Regions from separate parts of the Homo sapiens genome. Here region 1 is linked to region 2. The links are contacts of gene promoters, found by promoter capture Hi-C in human tissues and cell types (Jung and others, 2019). All regions are on one chromosome and are shown on one strand. The core of a region is centred on a gene start or on the middle of the fragment in contact, and the rest is flanking DNA. Distances in the headings are between cores, read along the strand shown. Region 1 has its middle 29 kb from the start of OR56A1. Region 2 holds the start of OR56B4 (olfactory receptor family 56 subfamily B member 4).

Region 1 (5,028 bases), core at 1,831-4,330, 47 kb before region 2:
TGGCCAGAAGAACATGGACGTGATGGGGTACATGATGACCAAAGCGGTGAGTGAGGAAGGAGAACATTCCCGGGATATAGAAGACCAGGATGACACAAACATGAGAGCCACATGTGCTAAACGCCTTAAGTCGGGCCTCATTTCCTGGTACCTTCAGCACTGCCTGGAGAATGTGGGCATAGGAAACACCAATGGCCAGGACATCCAGCCCAACCACAAGCAAGGCCACAGTCAGCCCATAAGCTCGATTGACTGTGGTTTCTGAGCAGGCAAGTTTCACAACAGCCATATGTTCACAATAGGCATGGCCTATGATGGTGGCTTGGCAGAAGATAAGTTTTCGCAACAGAATGAGGAAGGGGATGAGGAGTAGTAATCCCCGCACCAGCACCACCATTCCGATGTGCCCTATGACCCCTGGATGCAGGATCGTGGAATGGTGCAAGGGGTGACAAATGGCTACATAGCGATCCAGAGCCATGGCCACAAGTACCCCTGACTCCATGGAGGAGAATGCATGGGTGAAGAACATCTGGATCAGGCAGACAGTGTAACCAATCTCTTGGGCACGAACCAGGAGCACTGCAAGGGCTTTGGGTGCAGTGGAGGAGGCCACAACCAGGTCGATGGCAGCTAGCATGGACAGGAAGAGGTACATAGGTTGGTGCAAGGATGGGTCCATCCAGATGATGAAGAGAATGGTAACATTGCCCACTAGAGCAAGGAGGTAAAGGATGCCCAGGGGCAGTGCGATCCAGTGCTGGCTTTCCTCTAAACCCGGAATTCCTACCAGGAAAAAAGAAGGCTGGGGTAGCCTCCAGCTGGAATTGCTAAGCGCCATTATCAATGACTTGAGGAGGAAAGAGAAAAAAGAATCCAAATTCATGATTTCTGCATTTCTGGTACATTATCACATAGTCCAGATCACATTGTCTACCATCTTCATGAGAAGAATAAAGTGACTAAAACTGCAACCAAAGGGAATAAAGTTAGATACAAGAAAGAAAATCTTTGGTGGAGATAAATTTTTTTACAGGTGAGACATCCACATGTCTGAATTAGAATAGGTCTAGTTTTTTTAGAGATAAGAGTAAACATACACTGTTTTGGGAGAGATGCATAAGCTTTAACCATTCAGTTGCTTATGTTTTGAAGCTGCCAACTTCAAAGGGTTCTCTTTATTAGCCTCTTGGCGTTACTGAACACAGTAAATTAAACTGTTGTTTTTGAAATTAGCCTCCCTCAGTTTCCGTGAAGTGGCACTCTAGAGTTGTTTCTCCTATAGCCTCAGTCCCACCATTTTCTCCATCTCATTATGTTGTTGATTCCAGGGATCCATCCTCTCCTCTTTTCCCTATTCAGTACATTATCTCTGAATTGACCTCATCCACTTTCATAGTTTTATCTATCTACTTTTATTTCTTTCAAATCTGTGTTTCTAAGTCAAATATCTTTCTGAAACACAAATCATTCTTTCCATTTGCTTCCTGAATAGCTATACTATAGCCTCAACATATTCAAAACTAAATTAATTCATCTATCCTTCTTAAATCTGTCCTACCTACCTTTGGCAATATTTTTATGAATTACATTACTATCCATCTACCAAACCCAATCTAGAAACTCGGAAACTATCTTTACTTATTCTTATCTCTCATCCCTTTTCCCCATTCGCCAATTCCTGTTAACTGCATTTTTAACACATAGCTGTTATATCCACTCCTGTTTTCAACCCCCGATGTCAAACATCCAACTTCTCTCACCTGTACTGTTTCATTACATCTCTCTGCCTTTGCTGTAAACATCTTCCCAATTCACTCTCAACCTTAAAGTCAGGTTTTTCCTAAAATGCAGATGTCGTTATGTCGTGCCTATGGCTAAAATCCTTCAGTGAATCTATTGCATGGAATAAAATCATACTCTTAAGACTGCATTAAAGGTTTTCAAGGGTTATCTATTGTGTATTACTTTGGTCTTACAGTTAACATATTTCTACATGTATGTTTTACTAAACCATTCCAACATTCTTGGAGTTATATGACTAAACTCTCCTATTTTACATATGCCTTTTGTGTAGTCTTTCTTCCACTTCCTTTATCTGAATTGGTCTTCCTCACTCTTGAAAATTTAGAGTCTACTCTCTTCTGCTGCTCAAAAGGACTCATTGGCTGTGTTAGGTCAAGAGTGATTATGTCACGAGCACTGTATGTTATGATCCTTCTTTGTTCATCCATAACTTTCTTGCTTATCTCCATCATAGAAATCCTGTCAGCATCTTAATGGCTTGTTTTAAAGAACTGTATCTCATTACATGTCATGATTATAAGCTAGCATGGATGCTTCACAATGCAGTGTGATAAATACAAGCTTTGCGGGCAAAGTTTGTTAAAATTCTGTCCATTTCATATTCTAGGAATAAAATCTTGCTAGGCTTCTAAAACTCTCTAAGTCTTAATTTCCTTATTTCATATTAGAATAAATAATATTAATCTTAAATACTAAAAATTTTAACTAATGTATGTAAAGTCTTGATATATAGGTTACCTTATAAAGTATAGTCTATAAATTATAGTTCTTTTTTAATGTTACTAATAAAAGATGGCTATGAGCTCTTAGTCATCTTTTATTAAGTTGGTACAAAAGTAATTGTGATTTTTGCCGTTGAAAGTAATGGCAAATATTAATAGCAATATTATTAATGTTTAAAAAGATAACTATAATTACCTTTCCTTTCTTCTTTGTCTTCATGACTCTGCTTCTCTGATTCAAACTTTTGATATGTTTACCTGTCATCATGATGTTATAGCAATTCAGTGTCTCTGACACCCCACGTTAACATGAACTATTGAATAAACAGCTGTCTGTTTAACCTTCTCCATGGGATTCACCCCTCAAGTATTAAAATAAGAAACTTGCAACTGGTTACATTTGTGTCTGTATGTTTATCTTAAAAGACAGATGTAGTCTGAAACAACTATATTTTTCTTTGTTGGGGTGGTGGTTCGTGTACATGTACATGTGAAGATTTTTAAAAGTCAAGAATGACTCAGTTCTTGTGGATTATGCATCTATAGATCACTCAGTGTGTCTTTTTTACAAATCAATAATGTTTGGGAACTATCATATTGCCCCCAAACTCTCAATATAACAACTATAAGTTCTGAAATTCTAGGTGGGCATATGTCTCCCAGCCTTTGTCTTTCTTCAAGAGTCAACTTAAAATAATGATGACATTTTTATTGAGACTTCCAGGGGAATCTTATACTCTTGCAAAAAAAAAAAAAAAAATCACCTTTCAGTGCTTAATATTCCACATACTGAGGAAGTTAATTCTCTTTCTTAGCTACTCCCCTTCTGTTACAACCATCAGCTCATTTCTCATTTTATAGCTGAGAAGTTGAAGAACAGGTATGTGTTTGTGGAAGGCACCCGTGGCTTTAATAGAAACAGTGTGCATAAAGCAGTGAGACTGAAACCGTACTACAGAAGGTGAAGCAGAGGGGCAGAGACACGAACCTGAATATAATCTGCTTCTTTTTTATGCTGCATGGCTTGTGAGACTAGAGCAAAAGCCTACATCTGCTTATTAAGCACTAATTATTAAAGTAAATAGGAGATCCCTCTGTGATTCTTAGAAGAAAAGCAGAAGGGACTTTATTCCCAAGAACCTAAAAGTGAAGCTCTATTTAGTTCTCCAACCAGAAAGCAGGGGACAATTAGCGAAGAGCTGATGCTGTTGAACTACTACTTATTCATCTACATTCAATCTAAGCAACCTATCTTCTGTGAAGTTGTGCTTGAATTCTGTAAGACAGCATAATGTGTCTCCTTTTCTTTCCCTTTGTGATGTCTTTACCACTTTGTCATTGCATTGATGACCTTGCACTTTAAAAAGCAGGGACTATGCCTTGCTTATTGCAGCAGCCCCAGGGCAAGCTCCAGAAGCACCTAGAATCCAGTCGGTAATCAGTAATGTTGGTTGAATAAATATCCATATGATTAGATTAAATAATAAATAAATAAGTGTATGAGTGTCTTAAAAGGCTGAAGATTATGAAAATTTGATAAGGCAGAGACTGAATTTAAGTAAAGGAATAAAGTAGCAGACACTGGGTTGCCGTCTGAGGGGATTACTGATTGAGTGTTGACAGTCCTCACCTTAAGTGATGCTCTGGGTGCTTCATGGCAGAAAGATCCCTGCTGATTCATCACTATCTCGCATGCAAAGAAGTGATAAAGAAATCCTAGATGTGTCAGAAATAAGGGGATTCCTGTGGTCACTGGTAGTCACTTCTGCTCCTAGCAGGCAGGGAGGCCTCTATGGGATGTGACTTGTCTCTCTCTCTCTTTAATCTCTTTCTCAGCAGTGATCTGGACTCTATGATAGTCGGGAGGAAAGGAGACAAGAACCTAGGCAGAAAAAGAGCAGTGGAGGACACAGAAATAGTGGGTCCATGATAATGACCTAATAAGAGAGGAAGATACAGAAATCAAGCACTAAGAGGCAGAGCTTCACTGCACAAATCGGAGACACATAGATAATCAATAAAGTAAGCCTGGCAAAGGGCACTGTCCTACTGGTCTCTGGATTGTCTTTGAGGATGTGCCCTTTAAAGTCTTGGGTCAACCTGGAGGGAGACTCAGCAGCACAAAGAAAACTAGGAAAGGGAGAAAATTCCCAGATTCAGGAAGGTTCTGTTATAGCCCTCCCTGCTCATCTCCAGGAACACCCTGAGTCCTCTGTTCAACCTCCACAATGGTCTTCTGCCTTAGCTTATGTGTAACAATGATAAAGAGGACTTTCTCTTCAGAAGGGCTGCACAGCAGTCTCTGAATGCCAAAGAGGACATCAAATGCATCCCTCGAGGTCTGTACAGCTAAAGTTTCCCAAAGATATGAAACATGAGTACTAGCTTTGGCAACACATGGGTAAACTGTATCTACATGCATGATATTTGATGGTGAGGATGCCACCTAGGACCATGCTAAATGGTCCTGTGAATGCCTCAGGCTGATCATGAAGGCTTA
Region 2 (4,995 bases), core at 336-2,835:
AAAGTGGATCTCACAGAAGTAATGAATAGAATGGTGGTTACCAGAGGCCGGAAAGGGTGGGGGTAGGGGAAGAATAGAGGGTGGCTGATGGGGACAAAAATACAGTTAGGTGGAAGAAATAAGTTCTAGTATTCAATAGCACAGTAGGAAAATTATAGTTAATAATTTACTGTATGTTTCAAAATCGCTAAAAGAGAATTGCAATGTTCCTAACACAAAGAAAAGATAAATGCTTGAGGTGATGGATATCCTAATTACACTGATTCGATCATTACACATTGTATACATGTATCAAAATATCACATGTACCTCCAAAATATCTACAAATATGATATATCAATTCTAAAAATACAAAAAAAAATCATTAAACTATAGGGCATCTAGGTGGTAGAAAATAATGCAACTTAACTGCAGTATGGAAATATGGAGCAGTCTTCAAAATATTAAGTTAAAAAAGAAAAGGAAAGAAAAAAGGAGAAAGGTGTGCTAACAATTGATTATGTCTTTTATGAAAATTATATATATATATATATATATATATATATGTTTTTATCCATGCATAAACTATTAATGGAAGGATTCCCAAGAAACATATTACTGGCTGCCTCTAGTGAAAAGGAAAAAGATTTCAAAGCCCCAAGCATGAGAGTCTTACTTTTCATTGTTTATATTTTTCATTTTATTTTGATTTTTACCATGTATAGATAATATATCTTAAAATAAAATCAAAATTATATTTAAAATTTTAAGACTATTATATCCTTTGTATATATAATTTTTGCATCACTTTTGAAACTCTACTCAAGGAAAACAATATTAAAAGCAAAATACCTGTCAGTAAATTATAGAATAGCCAAATGCAAAAATTTAAAGCAGCAATTAAAATTAACATCACACTTTTTAAATAATATTGTGAAGTCTTTGGTTAATGTATTCATCCATGAAATAAAATTTTTGAGTGCTTATATTACATCTTAACACATACTGCTAAAAGACAAAAACAAGATACAAAATCATCTCTAGATAATGATGTAGACTGTTTAAAAATAAAATAGAAAATTGGAAATAAATCAAATACTAACATTTGTTATCTGTTAGTGATAAGACTGTTGTTAATATATGTGGACATGCTTATTAGACATACAAGTGGTGATGAAAAATAGTTATTCCAACTCTTCTGTTTAGAATTTTTTTGCTTTTTTTGTTATTCCTCTGTGGAATATTTCCAGAAGTCAAATAAAGTTGAGGGTCATTCATGAATAAAAGGAGCTGGTTCATTATTGAGGAGCTCTTACCAAGACACTTAACTTTTTGTTTTGTTTTGTTTTTTAAGACAGGGTCTCACTCTGTTGTCCAGGCTGGGGTGCAGTGGCACAATCTCGGCTCACGGCAACCTCCGCCTCCCAGGTTCAATGATTCTCATGCCTCAGCCTCCCAAGTAGCTGGGATTACAGACAGGCACCACCACACCCAGCTAATTTTTGTATTCTCCGCAGAGATGAGATTTTGCCATGTTAGCCAGGTCAGTCTCGAGCTCCTGACCTCAAATTATCTGCCTGTCTCAGCCTCCCAAAGTGCTGGGATTACAGGCATGAACCACGATGCTCAGCCCCTTAGCTGAACTTTTAAACAGAGATTTCTTCTATTTCAGACAGACACTGAGACTGAGGCACCCATTCCATGGATACCTCCACCAGTGTTACCTATGACTCCAGCCTCCAGATTTCCCAGTTCATCCTGATGGGATTACCAGGCATTCATGAGTGGCAGCACTGGCTCTCCCTGCCCCTGACTCTGCTCTACCTCTTAGCTCTTGGTGCCAATCTCCTCATCATAATCACCATTCAACATGAGACCGTGCTACATGAACCCATGTACCATTTGCTGGGCATATTAGCAGTGGTGGACATTGGCCTGGCCACCACCATCATGCCCAAGATCCTGGCCATCTTCTGGTTTGATGCCAAGGCCATTAGCCTCCCCATGTGTTTTGCTCAGATCTATGCCATCCACTGCTTCTTCTGCATAGAGTCAGGCATCTTTCTCTGCATGGCAGTAGACAGATACATAGCCATCTGTCGCCCTCTTCAGTACCCCTCCATAGTCACTAAAGCTTTTGTCTTCAAAGCCACAGGGTTCATCATGCTCAGGAATGGCCTGTTGACCATCCCAGTGCCTATACTGGCTGCCCAGAGACACTACTGTTCCAGGAATGAAATCGAGCACTGCCTCTGCTCTAACTTGGGGGTTATCAGCCTGGCTTGTGATGACATCACTGTGAACAAATTTTACCAACTGATGCTAGCATGGGTCTTGGTTGGGAGTGATATGGCTCTGGTATTTTCTTCCTATGCTGTAATCCTTCACTCTGTGCTGAGGCTGAACTCAGCAGAAGCAATGTCCAAGGCTCTGAGCACTTGTAGCTCCCACCTCATCCTCATCCTCTTCCACACAGGTATCATTGTGCTGTCTGTCACACACCTTGCAGAGAAAAAGATTCCCCTTATTCCTGTGTTCCTTAATGTGCTGCACAATGTCATCCCCCCTGCACTCAACCCCCTGGCCTGTGCACTCAGGATGCACAAACTCAGACTGGGCTTTCAGAGACTGCTTGGACTGGGTCAGGACGTGTCCAAGTAACTCCAGCTTTAGGAATCCAGTAAGATGTTAGGAAATGACAGAGGTTTTAGTTCTCAATAGATCAGGGTTATAATCTGCACTTACCACACTCCCTAGGAAAAAAATGGCCAATAAAATCATGAAAACTGTCAGCCTCACTAATCAAAATATGTATATTAAAATTACAAGAAAATTTCCTATTACCTGGAAAATAAGTAAGAACAAAAAAGTGAAATGTTTCTAACTATTACTGCTAGCCTACCCCGAGATTAACACTTTCCTACACAACTGGTAGGACTATAAACACACCAAAAAGCAATTTGGTAAAATTTATCAAAATGTTTATAAATGTTTAAATGTTCTTAACCAGTAATTCTATTTTAGAAAAATATCCAAAAGAAATAGTCTAAATGCAGTCAAAAAGTTATTCATAAAAATCATTATAATATGACTAATAATAGAAAACAAAGCCTTTAATATTTACACATATTTAACTCTTACATATTTATGTGCTTTTCATATGTAATTTTTATAATAAAAAGTAAACAATAAATGTTTATTAAAAAGGAGTAAAGTTTAATTTTCGTACCCAAAAAAATCTCAATAATTAATGAATTAATGGTTAACAAGTGTTAAATACTTCTTGTAGGCCAGAAACTTTGATAAAATATGTATGTAGATTATCTGACTCAATTCTCACAATAACCCTTTGGGCAGGTACAATATTATTCCCAATTTCCAGCTAAGAAAACTCAGGCACTGGAAATTATAGAACTTGCCCCCTGACAGCACAGTTTCTAAGTGGGAGAGCTGGGATTCAAGTCCTGGGAAGTCTGATTGAAAAACCATAGCACTATTCTTACTCTCAGTCTTGCTCTGTTCCAAAATTTCTGTGTGAACTTGAACAACTTATGAAACCTCCCTATGTTTCAATTCTTCTGATTAAAAGTGACAAAAATCATAACATTTTGCTGAGCCAAATCGCAAACATGCTGTGACAATCAAAAGAGATAAAGAATACATGCTTTGAAATAAGATATACACATGGAAATATAAATCTAACTATGTGGCAGTTTTCTTGCTAGGAAAGGAAGAAAATGGATCCTAGAAAATGCCCTATAAAAATAGTTTCAAATAACCTGTTAATTAAAGCTAACTGAATTTTTGCTGTTTGCTCACCTAAAAAAATTGCACACTTTTTGAGTACAAGAACCATTCATGTGTACTTTCAATGAGCCTCAGTCAGAACATTGCACACAGTAGGTGCTTAATTCATTATATAATCAGGGAGCATTATAGATCTGTTGAATTATGTGTATCAAAGAAAATACCTGGACCATGGTCTGAATAATGACCTCAGGAAGTTTGCACATGAGTCCACCTTGGAAAACAACTTCTTAGGAAATAGCACAAGGACTAAAGCAACATCAGAAACCATCAGCTCATCTCACCAGAGTAATGCATGCTGGGCAGCATAACAGAGCTGCAGGGGGAAGTCATCTGTGTGCGGGACAGGACTTCTTAAGAGTTATGCTTGGAAACTTACCCAAAAAGAGACTATCAACTTCCTCCAAAAGAATTGGCTGCTTCATTCTTTCTTGACAGTGATTCAAATGGAAGCAACTGATCATCTAATAAGAGGAGGCAAGAGAGAGACAATTACAGAAAGGATTTTAACTTAACTCAACCTCCCATGGTTTGTTACCCTGAAGGATCAGAGTAATAACATCTAATCCTGCAGAGTTCTTCACAGTTTGCAAAATACTTTCCCACAGTGGATTGAGTAATTTCACATAATTTTCATAGCAGTCCTCTTAATTAGGAAGCTGTTAAAGGATTACTATTAATTCTTTTCTACAAAGAAATAGGGGCTAAGTTTGGGTAATTATATAAATTCACCCACTGGGAAGTGGCAGTACTGAGGCTCAGGCAGTTTAGCTGTCTCTGGTAGATGGCAATAGTGTGCCATCCTCAAAGCTGCCTTTAAACTTTCATTCATACATACCTTTATTTATTTATTTGTTTATTTATTCATTCATTCAAAAATACATAGCATGAGTCTATGCACAGCAGCCCAAATTGTAGGCCACTCTCAACAACTTCTGTGGACATGTGTCTCAGTTCTTCTGAAAATAAATAAACACCTAACATTCATCTTGGAGTCAGGAAGATTTATGCAATTAATTATTCTCTCCTCTATATGTGCCATGAGGATAAAAAAAGATTGTGCATTGTTTTATTTTTATGAATTATTTATGTTTGTCATGTATTTCATATTTGCCCATATGCTTTGCTTTATATGATTTTAATACTGTCATACTATATTTGCCTGTTTGTCTTCTCTCATTCACTTCTTTCCATATTCCTTTGATATTT

Evidence for each region. The method cuts DNA at HindIII sites, captures the fragments that hold promoters and counts their contacts. A contact is called where the count stands out against the background at its distance.
Region 1: a contact is called between a fragment that was not itself captured here and the fragment with the promoter of OR56B4 in region 2, in 1 of the 25 tissues and cell types used here (liver).

What each region holds. Positions count from the first base shown.
Region 1 is chr11:6,057,390-6,062,417 of GRCh38, forward strand. It overlaps the pseudogene OR52L2P. Among named protein-coding and RNA genes, the nearest start is that of OR56A1, 29 kb to the left of the region's middle. The HindIII fragment of the contact is 6,047 bases long and covers 58-5,028 here.
Region 2 is chr11:6,106,099-6,111,093 of GRCh38, forward strand. OR56B4 (olfactory receptor family 56 subfamily B member 4) reads left to right here and starts at 1,586. Exons shown (of 1, transcript NM_001005181.2): 1 at 1,586-2,737. The coding sequence starts at 1,681. The coding sequence ends at 2,640. LOC124902622 (a long non-coding RNA gene) reads right to left here. Exons shown (of 3, transcript XR_007062565.1): 2 at 4,166-4,250. The HindIII fragment of the contact is 6,854 bases long and covers 1-4,143 here.